Regions from separate parts of the Homo sapiens genome. Here all the other regions are linked to region 2. The links are contacts of gene promoters, found by promoter capture Hi-C in human tissues and cell types (Jung and others, 2019). All regions are on one chromosome and are shown on one strand. The core of a region is centred on a gene start or on the middle of the fragment in contact, and the rest is flanking DNA. Distances in the headings are between cores, read along the strand shown.

What was found. The method cuts DNA at HindIII sites, captures the fragments that hold promoters and counts their contacts. A contact is called where the count stands out against the background at its distance.
Region 1: a contact is called between a fragment that was not itself captured here and the fragment with the promoter of FAM83C in region 2, in 1 of the 25 tissues and cell types used here (aorta).
Region 3: a fragment that was not itself captured here is called in contact with the fragment with the promoter of FAM83C in region 2 in 1 of the 25 tissues and cell types used here (bladder).

The regions. Positions count from the first base shown.
Region 1 is chr20:35,118,016-35,122,989 of GRCh38, reverse strand. MMP24-AS1-EDEM2 (MMP24-AS1-EDEM2 readthrough) reads left to right here. Exons shown (of 15, transcript NM_001355008.2): 14 at 4,271-4,392. EDEM2 (ER degradation enhancing alpha-mannosidase like protein 2) reads left to right here. Exons shown (of 11, transcript NM_018217.3): 10 at 4,271-4,392. Among named protein-coding and RNA genes, the nearest start is that of EDEM2, 27 kb to the left of the region's middle. The HindIII fragment of the contact is 4,711 bases long and covers 775-4,974 here.
Region 2 is chr20:35,290,665-35,295,160 of GRCh38, reverse strand. FAM83C (family with sequence similarity 83 member C) reads left to right here and starts at 2,736. Exons shown (of 4, transcript NM_178468.6): 1 at 2,736-3,369. The coding sequence starts at 2,857. The HindIII fragment of the contact is 12,597 bases long and covers 1-4,334 here.
Region 3 is chr20:35,139,073-35,143,429 of GRCh38, reverse strand. MMP24-AS1-EDEM2 (MMP24-AS1-EDEM2 readthrough) reads left to right here. Exons shown (of 15, transcript NM_001355008.2): 8 at 952-1,057. It overlaps EDEM2 (ER degradation enhancing alpha-mannosidase like protein 2), which reads left to right. Exons shown (of 11, transcript NM_018217.3): 4 at 952-1,057. Among named protein-coding and RNA genes, the nearest start is that of EDEM2, 6.1 kb to the left of the region's middle. The HindIII fragment of the contact is 7,283 bases long and covers 1-4,357 here.

The sequences.
Region 1 (4,974 bases), core at 1,881-4,380, 170 kb after region 2:
GGACAAAGGAAGGAAGCTTAGTCAGCACACATAGTCATCCCCCACCCCAAAACAGGCTATGAGCCCATTGTCTTAGACACTTCCCACTTTCCCACCTGAATTGCCTTTTAGCCATGGGACAGGCCTTCTGGTTATCCTGCCTTCCTCTACCCCATTTCCTTCCTCTTCTAACTCAAGTGATTATCGTAGGAGGTGTAGAGGGGACCAGGAGAGGGAATAAAGAGCAAATTCATCAACTTTTGACTCCTTAGAGGCCACTGTTATTGATGTTTCTCATGCATTTGTTCTCATGGCATGTTTTTAAAACAGGAAACTTGGTTGGGCATGGTGGCTCACGCCTGTAATCCCAGCACTTTGGGAGGCCAAGGCAGGTGGATCACCTGAAGTCAGGAGTTTGAGACCAGCCTGGCCAACATGGTGAAACCCCATCTCTACTAAAAATACAAAATTAGCTGGGCATGGTGGCGTGCACCTGTAATCTCAGCTACTGGGGAGGCTGAGACAGTAGAATCGCTTGAACCCGGGAGGTAGAAGTTGCAGTGAGCTGAGATCACGCCATTGCACTCCAGCCTGGGCAAAAAAGAGCAAAACTCCATCTCAAAAAAATAAATAAGTAAATTTTAAAAATAAGAAGCTCTGAGAAGGTATCGTATCTGGTGTTACCAACAGGTAAAGATTAGGGTTTGGAACTAAATGTAAGACATAGGCTTGCACAATCTTAGGGTTAGAGGGAACCTGAGAGGTGTTCTAATTGGAATTTTCCTAATATGGCCCTGTCAAGTGGTTATCTAGTTTTTGCTTAGTTACCACGAGTGACAAGGAGCTTGCTACTTAACAGAGGCAACCTGTTCCATTTGGGACAGGCTGGCAGGAAGGCATTCATGGAAAGTAAGACACTACTGGCCAGATGCAGTGGCTTATGCCTGTAATCCCAGCACTCTGGAAGCCTGAGGCAGGAGGATCATTTAAGCCCAGGGGTTCAAGATCAGCCTGGGCAACATAGCAAGACCTTGTCTCTATAAGAAATATAAATAAATTAGCCAAGAGTGGTGTTGCATGCCTGTAGTCCCATCCCAGCTACCTGGGAGGATCACTTGAGCCCAGGTGGTCGTAGCTGCAGTGAGCCATGATGGCGCCACTGCAATCCAGCCTGGGCAATGGAGTGAGACCCTGTCTCCAAAAAAAAAAAACATAAGGCACCGCTGTCAGGAATCCAGGAGTGCGTTAATCCAGTCATCCCTCCTACCCCAAAACAATGGCAAATAGGAGATAAGGACTACTCTTTCACTAAATTGGCCAGAGCCCTGTACTTTCGTATATGTCTCTCTGATCAGCAGTGTTGGAGCACAGAGCCTAGCCTAAAGGCCTCTGCAGGCTTTTACCTTCCTCTAAGTCCAAATCTGAACTTTGGGCTGTCTCCTTCCTCTAGAGCAGGGATTCCCCAACCCCCAGGCCGTGGACCGGTACAAGTCCATGGCCTGTTAGAAACCAGGCCACACAGCAGGAGGTGAGCTGCGTGTGAGCAAGCAAAGCTTCATCTATATTTATAGCTGCTCCTCATCGCTCACATTGCTGCCTGAGCTCCGCCTCTTGTCTTATCCGTGGTGGCATTAGACGTTCATAGGAGCACAAACCCTATTGTGAACTGCATATGTGAGGGATCTAGGTTGTGTGCTCCTTAGGAGAAGCTGATGCCTGATGATCTGTCACTGTCATCCATCAACCCCAGATAGGGCTGTCTAGTTGCAGGAAAACAAACTCAGGGCTCCCACTGACTCTACATTATGGTGGATTGTATAATTATTTCATTATATATTACAATGTAATAATAATATAAATAAAGTGCACAATAAATGTAATGCACATGAATTATCCCAAAACCATCTCCTACAAGCCCAGTTCATGGAAAAATTGTCTTCCATGAAACTGGTCCCTGGTGCCAAAACGGTTGGGGACCACTGCTCGACAGAGTTGGTCAGATGCACAGGAAAGTAAAGCAATAACTAACATGCTTAGGAGGCCCACATGTGAGGAGAGAAGCGTGATGGCTGGTCATGAGGGCACTGGCCCACCAGCTGCTAGAAGCAGAAGAGGGCTGGGTGTGGTGGCTCACGCCTGTAATCCCAGCACTTTGGGAGGCCAAGGCGGTGGATCAACTGAGGTCAGGAGTTCGAGACCAGCCTGACCAATATGGCGAAACCCTGTCTCTACTAAAAATACAAAAATTAGCCGGGCACGGTGGCATGTGCCTGTAGTCCCAGCTACTCAGGAGGCTGAGACAGGAGAATTGCTTGAACCTGGGAGGCAGAGGTTGCAGTGAGCCAAGATCATGCCATTGCACTCTAGCCTGGGTAACACAGCAAAACTCCCTCTCAAAAAAAAAAAAAAAAAAAAAAGAAGAAGCCGAAAAAAGAAGCAGAAGAGGAGGCCTCCCATGAGGGCACTGTCTTTTCTGCCTTTGAACACACAGAATGTGTTCATCTAGTAATGAATGTACCCTAGTCTGTGCCTTAGAATATGAGCAATTAGATTAGCAATTGTCTAGAGGCCTGTGAGGAGAGGGGAGGAGGAAGTAAGAGAGAACTGGGGAGATAGGCAGAGACCTTTTCTCTAAAATAAGAACTAGAGGCTGGGTGCAGTGACTCACGCCTGTTATCTCAACACTTCAGGAAGCCAAGACTGGCGGATGACTTGAGGTCAGGAGTTTGAGACCAGCCTGGCCAACATGGCGAAACCCTGTCTCCACTAAAAATACAAAAATTAGTCAGGGCTGGTGGCGCATGCCTGTAATTCCAGCTACTTGGGAGGTTGAGGCATGAGAATCCCTTGAACCCAGGAGGCAGAGTTGCAGTGAGCGGAGATCGCACCATGGCACTCCAGCCTGGGTGACAGAGTGAGACTCTGTCACAAAAAAGTAATTAACGGAATAAAATAAGAACCAGAGTTTGCAGCAATAAGCCAAAAGGGACAGAAGCACTGATCAAGCCCAGGAGGAAACAGGACAGGAGAAGGTCAGGGGGAGATGATGGTATAGAAAGGAGACAGGGGTTCTTCTGTCTCTTAGAAAAGATGGATGAAGTAGAAAAACATACTGAGCTGAGGCCACCCTTGAAGTCAACTCTACAACAGTTCTTCAGGTATTTGAAAGCAATAAACACATTTTTTTTGGATTTCCTTATCTCTAGAATAAATATTCTCATCTGGACCCACTCCTGTTGGCTAATATTCATCTTAAGGTAGAGCTCATGTCTTAACATCAAGTTCCAGTTGTGGCATAGAATTGGGCAAGACAAAACATCACTTTTTCTGGCCACAGTGAACTGATGACTACGTCTTTGTTAGATTGACGGTTTGGTGGTTTATTTTATTTTATTTTTTTAATTTTTATTTTTTGAGATAAGGTCTCACTCTTGTCATCCAGGCTGGAGTGCCGCAGTGGCTTAATCATGGCTCACTGCAGCCTCAAACTCCTGGGCTCAAGTGATCCTCCTACCTCAGCCTCCTGAGTAGCTAGGACTACAGGTGCATGCCACACCCAGCTAATCATTTTTAATTTTTGTAGAGACAAGATCTCGCCATGTTGCCCAGGCTGGTCTCAAACTCCTGGGTTCAAACGATCCTCTCACCTTGGCCTCCCAAAGTGCTGGGATTACAGGCATGAGCCACCCACCATGCCTGGCCTGCTCTTGGATATCTCAGCCTTTTCTTTTGGTCCATCCTATCTTAGAACGAGCCTTATGATGCCAAGCTCTTACTCTTCTTTTGAGTTTTAGAATTAGGTTAGACTCTGAGTGACAGGAAAAAAAATAGTAGCTTAATTAGGATAGAAATGTATTTCTCTCTCATGTTCTGGGCTTATATGGCTCGCCATGGTGTCCTTAATCCCACCTAGCTGTTAGAATAGTTAGTGTTGGCAGCCAGGCAGCCTGTGCTTAGCTAAAGTTAGGAATCCTGCTACTAAGGAGGAAGCGGGGAACAGATATTGGGAATTAGGCAACAACCTCCGCCACCTTCTCTATGCCAGAACCTGGCCACCTTTCTCTCCCTTGTGGTGGAAGTCACTGGTCAGCCTTAATGCTGGTCTCCACTGAGCTTCAAGCTTTGGGTATACTGGCTCTGAAACTCAGCACTGGGTGAGGTATCCTGTGTTCCTGCTAGTTGGGGCCTTATGGACAAGATATGGAGGGGAGTAGTCCCTCACGGCCCTAAGAGGCCCCAGGCCATCTCTGTGCAGCCACTGAGTGAGGAGGGTCTGCTTTGGACTTTGCAGAACTTATTGAAAGCGCAATGTACCTCTACCGTGCCACGGGGGATCCCACCCTCCTAGAACTCGGAAGAGATGCTGTGGAATCCATTGAAAAAATCAGCAAGGTGGAGTGCGGATTTGCAACAGTAAGTGTTTGCATGGCCCCAAGAACTGGGAAGAGTCTCCCCTTGCTGCTAAAAAGCCTCTTTAAGGGTAGAGCTTTGGGAGTTCTGACATATCAGCACTAGAAGGGACCTTGGAGATATACATAATGCTCATATTTTACAGATGGGGAGACCAAAGAACAGAGAAGCTAAGTGCCTTGCTAAAGATCTCACAGCTAGTAGAGGTAGAGCTAGAATTAGTTCCTTGGGATCTTGACCCCGGCCCTTGGCATTCCTCCCACAGTGGAGATCTTTGATCTGTTTGAATAGGTGACTTTGAAAAGGTGAGTTTAGCGAAAAGTTTTGTGAGACACTAAAATAGATTTTAAGGGGAATCCAGAGTCCCATAGCCCTATATTCAAACCTGGGACTCCTTAACAAAGCAGTCCTGCTTAGTCTCACAGATATTTCTTGAATGTCTTTCACATGCCAGGCACTCTGCTAGGCCCAAGGGTTACAGCAGTGGCCTTGCTCTCATGGAGCTTACATTTTAATGAGAAAAAAACCATGAATGTGTATCTGGTAGACAGAAGGCCAGTGTGGCTGGAGCGGAGCAAGCAAGGA
Region 2 (4,496 bases), core at 1,487-3,986:
CACACCTGTAATCTCAACACTTTGGGAGGCGGAGGCAAGAGCATCGCTTGAGGCCAGGAGTTTGAGAGTAACCTGGGCAACAGAGCAAGACTCCATCTCTAATTCTTTTTTTTTTTTTTTTGAGATGAAGTCTCGCTCTGTCACCCAGGCTGGAGTGCAGTGGCGTAATCTCAGCTCACCTCAACCTCTGCCTCCCAGGTTCAAGCGATTCTCCTGCCTCAGCCTCCCAAGTAGCTGGGATTATGGGCGCCTGCCACCACAGCCACCTACTTTTTGTATTTTTATTAGAGATGGATGGGGTTTCACCATGTTGGTCAGTCTGGTCTTGAACTCCCAACCTCAGGTGATCCGCCCACCTCGGCCTCCCAAAGGGCTGGGATTATAGGCATGAGCCACAGCGTCTGGCCACGAATTATTTTTTAAAGGCAAATTTTATGCGTATTTTACCACAATTAAAAGATACAGAGCCAAAGATATGTACCTGAAGTAGATGTATACACACTGCAAGATAAACAAAACTAACTCAGTGACACGCAAACATGCCTCCCTCCCTCCCGGGAGCACTTCTACCACCCAGATAAGACCCTGGTTGGTCCTCCCCTTCAAACAAATCTGGAGATAAGGCCCTAATGATGGCCCTGCCACCTCGGCTGCCCCCACAGCTCATCACCCTCCCACGGTCTGGCTTTGTTTACTCAACCTTCTGCCCCTCTTGCAGCCTCCTCACCCCCATGGAAGGGCCTCCTTGGAGTGCCCGGTGCTCCTGCACCTGGGATGGGATGGAGTAGGCCATAACTCCTGACCTGTGGCTCCCCCATGCTCCCCCAGGCCCTTCACTTATAGGGTCCTTGAAGACACAGCCCTAGCCCCATTCACCTTTGGTCCTAGGGCTCAGCTCAACTCCGGAACCTCTAAATCCCACCCAGCTCCCTCCCACTATATGTGTGTCAAGTTCTTTGGACACAGAAGACCCTGTGTTCCGGACATGATCGCAGACCAGATAAACCAAGTGCGCTTAGTGCTAAACAGGCTGCGAGGCACGGCTTTAGGTCTTCTGCGCTTCCCGCCATCCTCGCTGGACCTCATGCCTCCGTGGAAAGGTGGTGACCGCTTCTGCCTAGCCTGGCTCCCCAGCTGCAGCTGTCACCTGCTCACCCCCTTCCCCAGAGCAAAGCTGCTCACCATCCTCCGAAGGACACACGGTACATGCTCCAGGACTTTAATCTTTGTTGGGGCAGAGGTCAGAAATCTACCTGCCCTGTTTGCCTCCTGACCTTGCAGTGTGTCCGCCCATTCTCTGAAACAACCTTCCAACCATTTTCATACTCAGCCCTGGAGGAGGGGAAGAAGGCTGGGGTCTGGCCACCACCAGGCCAAGAACATCCCTGGAGTTAAGGGTGTTGCAAGCACAGCCATCTGGAACAGCATGTCTCAGGGGTGGGCCTTAGCCCACTGCCCACAGTGCACTGGGCACTTGTTTAAAAACTCAGGAATTTGAGGTTACAGTAAGCTATGATCACATCACTGCTCTCTCTAGCCTGGGTGACAGAGCAAGATCATGTCTCAATTAAAAAAGAAAAATGGCCAGGTGTGGCGGCTCACACCTGTAATCCCAGCACTTTGGGAGGCTGAGACAGGAGGATTGCTTGAGGCCAGGAGTTCAAGATCAGCCTGGGCAACATAGTGAGATCCCATCTCTAAAAAAATTTTAAAAGTAGCCGAGCATGGTAACATGCACCTGTAATCCCAGCTACTCAGGAGGCTGAGGTGGGAAGATCGCTCGAGTCCAGAGAAACTGAGGCACAGCTGTAGTGAGCTGTGATTGCGCCACTGCCCTCCAGACTGGGTGACAGAGCAAGACCCTATCTCAAAAAGAAAAAGAAAAAAGACAAGCTCCAGAAGCCTACGGACACCTTCTGGATGAGAATTTCCAGGAGGGTGGGGCCCGGGGATCTGCATTTCATCACCTCTCACCACCCCTGGGGTCAGGGTGAGAGCCACTGCTCTAGGTTCTTGAAGGACAGCTCCGAGCCGGGGTGGGAGAGAGCCAGGGGGCTGTGAGCACCACAGTTAAGATGATGGAGAGTGGCAGGACGATTATGGGAGCAAAAAGAGGGCTGGCTGGGGGACAGACCAGCGTTGATGTCCTTGGATATTCCATGTGACAGTCGTTCAGCTCTCAGGGCCTTGCAGACTTGAGCCAGGGCACGTGCTATCCACTGTGGTATGTGTTGTGGGGGTCATGGCCGGTCTCTACATCGGCGTTTGGGTGAAGAGTTTATGCAAGTGGATGTGATTACAATGTGTGGTCGGTCTGTGTCAGCCCACACTCCATGTCTGTGTATCGGTCAGTTGTCAGTGTGTCCATCTGCATGGGTGTTCATGTCTTTTCCTGGGTGTCTTGAGTCGCTCACCCACCTGCAGTGTGTGTGCGTGTGCGTGTGAGTGTGTGTTCCTGAGTCGCCTGGGCCCCTCTTGGCTGTAATTCAACCTCTGTGGGTCCCGGGAAGTCAGCATTTGGAGACTTGCTGGGAGCCTGGTGGGGATGGGGCGGCGTTGCTGGGAGGAAGAGAGGGAGGCAGGAGTGTGCACCGAGGGCCTGGCACTGCCGCTTCCCTGGGCAGGCGAGTCCCAACACAGGCAGACAGGTGGGGCTGACCTGACAGGTTCCAGAGGCCAGGGGCAATAGGGTGGAGCGTGGCTCTGATTTAGGGTGGCAACAGTTTGGGGGCCCTGCCACACACACAGCGAGCGGGCGGGCAGAAGGCGGTTCTGCTGGTCTCCTCTTCCTGCTGCAGCCAGCCCAGCGTGCGGGCCATGGGCCCTGCCGGCGGGTGAGGCAGCCGCGTGGCAGGCATGTTCGGAGGCCCGGGGCCTGGGGTCCTGGGAGCCCAGGGCATGGCGGGACCCCTGCGGGGCCGGGTGGAAGAGCTGAAGCTGCCGTGGTGGCGGGAGAGCTCACCGCTGGTGCTGCGGCACAGCGAGGCGGCTCGGCTGGCGGCCGACGCCCTCCTGGAGCGGGGTGAGGCTGCCTACCTGCGGGTCATCTCCGAGGAGCGGGAGCTGCCCTTCCTGAGCGCCCTGGATGTGGACTACATGACCAGCCATGTGCGCGGGGGCCCTGAGCTCAGCGAGGCTCAGGGGCAGGAGGCCTCCGGGCCAGACCGCCTCAGCCTGCTCTCTGAAGTCACCTCAGGGACTTACTTCCCCATGGCCTCTGACATAGACCCCCCAGACCTGGACCTGGGCTGGCCCGAGGTGCCACAGGCCACAGGCTTCAGCCCCACCCAGGCTGTGGTCCACTTCCAGAGGGACAAGGCCAAGAACATCAAGGACCTGCTGCGCTTCCTTTTCAGCCAGGCCCACACGGTAAGGGCCTCATCTCTCCATCACTCATCTCACAGAGGAGGAAACTGAGGTCCAGAGAGGGAAGGGACCAGCCCAAGGCCACACAGCGACTTAGGGGCAGAATGAGGACCAGCACCTCTGGCACTATTAGATTGCAAACTCCTAGAAGGGGGACATCCCATATTTACCTTGGCAACTGCTTGGTACCCAGGAATAGTATGGATGAGCATAGAACAGGGCATGGGTGTCAGGGACTCCACAATCCCCTGAAATGCACACGAAGTGGTGCAGGTTGGAGGGAGGAGTCCTCGCTGCATCTTTACCTTGGAAGATGCTCCACTGCCTTAAATCAGATTCTCAAAAAGTTTTATGATCCCCACACTAAGAACTCCAACCTTGGGGAACATCTGAGTCACCTCCTTCACTTATAGAAGAAGAAACTGAGGCCAGAGAGGGGCTTGGGACTTGCCCAGGGAGGTCCATATGGTGACATAGAGCTCAGGGCTTGGGGAGACAGGGGCTCTCTGACTTGGGTCCTGGGGACCAGTCCGGCCCTCCTTGCTGGCTCAGGTCCCTAGTTGCCCCCTACCCTCCTGCACCACATCTGCAGCTGGGCCTGAAGCAGGGGAAGGGGCCAGCGTGTGGGCCTCTTTGGCGTGGCCTTGAGGGCTGGGCTTTGGAACCAAGGAGGAAGGAGGAGAGGAGGCTGCTGGGCTCAGTGATGGGGAGCGGGAGCTCAGGAGAAAGAGAATTGGGAGGGCAGGTAGGGGTGGTCAGCACCCAGAAAGGCTCTGGCCACACACGAGCACAGCTTCCCTTCTGAAGCCCTGGCCTCCGACTCCAGGGGAATGGACGAGATGATCCCTGGCAGGGTTTGAGGGAGAGTTAGGCTCCTGCTGCAGAGATGGGAAGCCAGGATGCTGGGATCCCACCGGTACTTCCAGAGCCTCCCTGGCAAGCCTTCCTGTGCCCCAGGCAGGGGACGGCCAGGCCTGATTGGCATCAGGAATGGGGTTATTAGTGAGGCTGCTGCTGTCGTCCTCCTCACCCCTGCCTCTTTGATCTTCCTGCCTGTCCTTGTTCCCCCACCCTGGCCAGGCCTGTGCTGTGAACTAGGGCATCCCCCAGTGCCTCGCCTTCTCAGCCCC
Region 3 (4,357 bases), core at 33-2,532, 150 kb after region 2:
GCTTTTATTCTAATGCTTAGTACGTCATGGTCTCACATAGCTGCCATCACTTCAGAAATCGAGTCTGAGTTCAAGGCAGAAAGAGAGAGACTAAAAGCCATGTTAGCTGTGTTTGTCCCTTGGTATTAAGAAAACAGAAGCCTTCCCAGAAGTGCCCCCAGTAGACCTCTCAAGGGTCAGAATTGACTGGGTAACACAATCAACTGCAGCAGCAAAGGAGGCCGAGAAAGCTTCTGGATTTCCAACCTCTGGTGGGAGGCCATGAGGTAAAGAGGGTAGGAATGAATTTGTTTTGGGCCAACCAACCTGTTCTGTTTTCCACAAGGTTGAAGGTGACAACTGGTATCTACTGCAAATGTCAAACTAAGACTTTTGGCCAGGTGCGGTCGCTCACACCTGTAATCCCAGCACTTTGGGAGGCCAAGGCGGGTGGATCATGAGGTCAGGAGTTTGAGACCAGCCTGATCAACATGGTGAAACCCCGTCTCTACTAAAAATACAAAAATTAGCCGGGCATGGTGGTGCATAATCCCAGCTACTCGGGGCTGAGGCAGGAGAATCGCTTGAACCCAGGAGGCGGAGTTTGAAGTGAGCCAAGATCACGCCACTGCACTCTACCCTGGGCAGCAGAGCGAGACTCTGTCTCAAAAAAACGAAACAAAAAACCTAAGACTTCTATGCGTAGTTTGCGTTCTTTATATTGTGTCCATTTAAATGACAACATCGTGACTCTTAATTGGGACCTAGGAATTTACTTAACCAGTCTCTTGGTATGAAGTCTCTAGATGATTTCTAGCTCTCAGTGTTTTCTTCTGCTGTCACCAATCCTAGGACAGAAACTGGAGGTCTTAAGTGGAATTAGTGAGGGCCACATCAACATAGGATCCCAGACTCTGAATCTGCCTCCATGCATGTAAGAGCCTCATTGTCAGGTCTCTTTTTTATTTCCAGATTTTGGGGAATGTCTCAGAATTCCAAAGAGTGGTTGAAGTGCTCCAGGACAGCGTGGACTTTGATATTGATGTGAACGCCTCTGTGTTTGAAACAAACATTCGAGGTAAGGGCTGCTCTCTAGGACCTTTAAAAGAAAAAAGAGTGTGAAGTTGCCTCTGTAAACCAAGAAGTGGTAAATAGGATTTTAAGGACTGACCATGCCAGGACCCTTGGCCAAAACCTCTGACCGACAGAGCTCTTCTTCCCTCCTGGAGGGTGAGGTGGGGAAGTCTCAGGATTTCCCCATCAGTTTCAGATATGAAAGTGAGCAGGAGACTAAGAGACTGGAAAGAAATACACCAGATTACTCACCTCTTTAATATGTATTTGATACTAGGCATACAGCTATGAACAAGAAAGATATGATCCTTGCCTTCTTGGAACTTATTGTCTGTCCAATCCAATTTTCTGCAGTGATGGAAATGTCTTATAGCTGTGTTTTGTCCAGTATGGTAGCCACGAACCACATGAGCTATTGAGCATTTGAAATGTATCTACTACAACTATGGAATTGAATTTTTAATTTCATTTAATTTTAATGATATTAAATTTAAGTAGTCACATGTAGTTAGTGATTATTGTATTGGACAGTGCAAATCTACAGCATTAATCTTCCAAACTTGGCAGCCCATAGGAACCACTCCCAAGTGGTTAAAAAATTCAGATGTTGAGACTCCACCCTAAACCTAATGAATTGGAATCTCTGTGTTGGGTCCTAGAATCAGTATTTTTAGCAGACTTCCAGTGATTCTTGTGAAGCCAGCACAGCCCTTATTTGCATCGAACCTCTAGACCACTTAACAGCTGTCACCTCTGGATGGCAGAGTTCTATTTTTCCCCATTATTTTGTATGTTTTCTGCAATGAAACTTATATTCCAGACATATGATCCATAAAAGATTAAAAAAGAGAAGAGAGCAGAGGGACAACATGGTCTAAAATCCTGGTTTAGGAATCCGGCCTGAGTTTGAGGCTGTACTTGCTGCTATGTCTCCCAGCTTCTGAGCCCAGTTTGTCATCTGTAAATGAAGGTCATTCTTATACCTTTATTTCTGATAGGAATATAAGTGATACCAGCTTTCTTTTGGTTGACATTTTCCCATGTATCTTTTTCTATCCTTTCCATCTTTCTGTAGTTTTATGATTAGATACATCTTTTGCAAATAGTGTATTATATTTTGTTTATCCATTCTGACAATCTTTAACTGGCACATTTAATCCATTTACATTTACTGTAATTACTGATATATTTGCACTCATTTCTACAGTATTGTGCTCTCTGTGCCGTCTTCTTTTTTTTTTTTTTTTTTTTTTTTTTGAGGCGGAGTCTCACTCTGTCGCCCAGGCGGGAGTGTAGTGGTGCAATCTTGGCTTACTGCAACCTCTGCCTCCCGGGTTCAGGCGATTCTCCTGTCTCAGCCTCCTATGTAGCTGGGATTGCAGGTGCCTGCCACCGTGCCCTGCTAATTTTTGTATTTTTAGTAGAGATGGGGTTTCACCATGTTGGCCAGGCTAGTCTCGAACTCCTGACCTCAGGTGATCCGCCCCCCATCAGCCTCCCAAAGTGCTGGGATTATAGGTGTGAGCCACTGCACCTGGCCCTGTGCCATCTTCTTTATGTTCCTTTATTCTGTCCTTTTTCATGCCTTCTTTAGATTGTTTTCCCCCCATTCCATTTTCCTCTTACTAATATGGAAATTATGCACAATATCTAGCTTTTTACATAGTTTTCCAAGCAAATTTAACAAACATAACTTATCAAAGTCTAAATTTAATGAAAATCTTTGTTCTCCTCCTGAATAATGCAAAACCTGACTTAGAGAACATCCTGACCTATATGCTACAGTTATATATTTTAGTTATTTGTTTTAAACCTTCCATACATTATAATTTTTGTTCTATATTGTTGAAGTTTTGCATTTACACATAAATTTACCACTTTTTTTGTTGTTGTTGGTTTGAAATAGAGTCTCACTCTGCCACCCAGGCTGGAGTGCAGTGGCGCGATCTTGGCTCACCTCCACCTCCTGGGTTTAAACGATTCTCCTGCCTCAGCCTCCAGAGTAGCTGGGATTACAGTTGTGCACCACCACACCAGGCTAATTTTTGTATTTTTAGTAGAGATGGTGTTTCACCACATTGGCCAGGCTGGTCTCAAACTCATGATCTTGAGTGATCCACCTGCTTTGGCTTCCCAAAGTGCTGGAATTACAGGTTTAGCCACTGTGCCTGGCCTATTTACCACTTTTTTGACTATTTTTTCTTTTCGTGTCTCAGACCTTTTCTCTAAAGTATTTCCTTTAGAATTTCCTTTAATGCAGGTGTGTGCTTCATAAACATTCCCAGCTTTTGTTTATATGAAAATGTCTTTATTCAACTGCCTTTGGTTGGCCTTTGAGTGATATTTTTGCTGGGTGTATGGTTCTAGGTTGATGGTTACTTTCTCTTATTGTGTTAAAAACTTTTTCCATTATCTTCTGGTTTCATTATTGTTAAGAAGTAATCTGTCAATGTAATTATTATTTATTTGTAGAGAATCTTGTTTTGGTTTTCACTTTGGCTGTCTTCTCCTTTTAAAAACTTTTTGTTATGGAAAACTTCAAACATAAAAGTAGAGAAAATAGCATAATGAACCAGACGTGCCCATCACCCAGCATTAATAATTATTATTACATGGATTCTGGCTGCATTCGAGATCATTTTTCCCTTTGGTGTTCTGCAGTTTTACCATAAGGTACATACATGTAGATTTCTTTTCTTTCTTTCTTTTCTTTTTTTTTTTTTTTCTGAGATGGAGTCTCGCTCTGTCGCCCAGGCTGGAGTGCAGTGTCATGATCTCAGCTCACTGCAACCTCCGCCTCCTGGGTTCAAGCAATTCTCCTGCCTCAGCCTCCCGAGTAGCTGGGACTACAGGCGCACAACGCCATGCCCGGCTAATTTTTTGTATTTTTAATAGAGACAGGGTTTCACCGTGTTTACCAGGCTGGTCACGAACTCCTGAGCTCAGGCAGTCCACCTGCCTCAGCCTCCCAAAGTGCTGGGATTACAGGCATGAGCCACCGTGCCCAGACTTTTTTTTTTTTTTTTTGAGACGGAGTCTCACTCTGTCACCCAGGCTGAAGTGCAGTGGTGCAATCTTGGCTCACTGCAACCTCCACCTCCTGGGTTTAAGCCATTCTTCTGCCTCAGCTTCCCAAGTAGCTGGGACTGCAGGCGCTTGCCACCACGCCCAGCTAATATTTTGTATTTTTAGTAGAGACAGGGTTTCACCATTTTAGCCGGGATGGTCTCCATCTCCTGACCTCGTGATCTCCACCTCGGCTCCCAAAGTGCTGGGATTACAGATGTGAGCCACCATGCCTGGC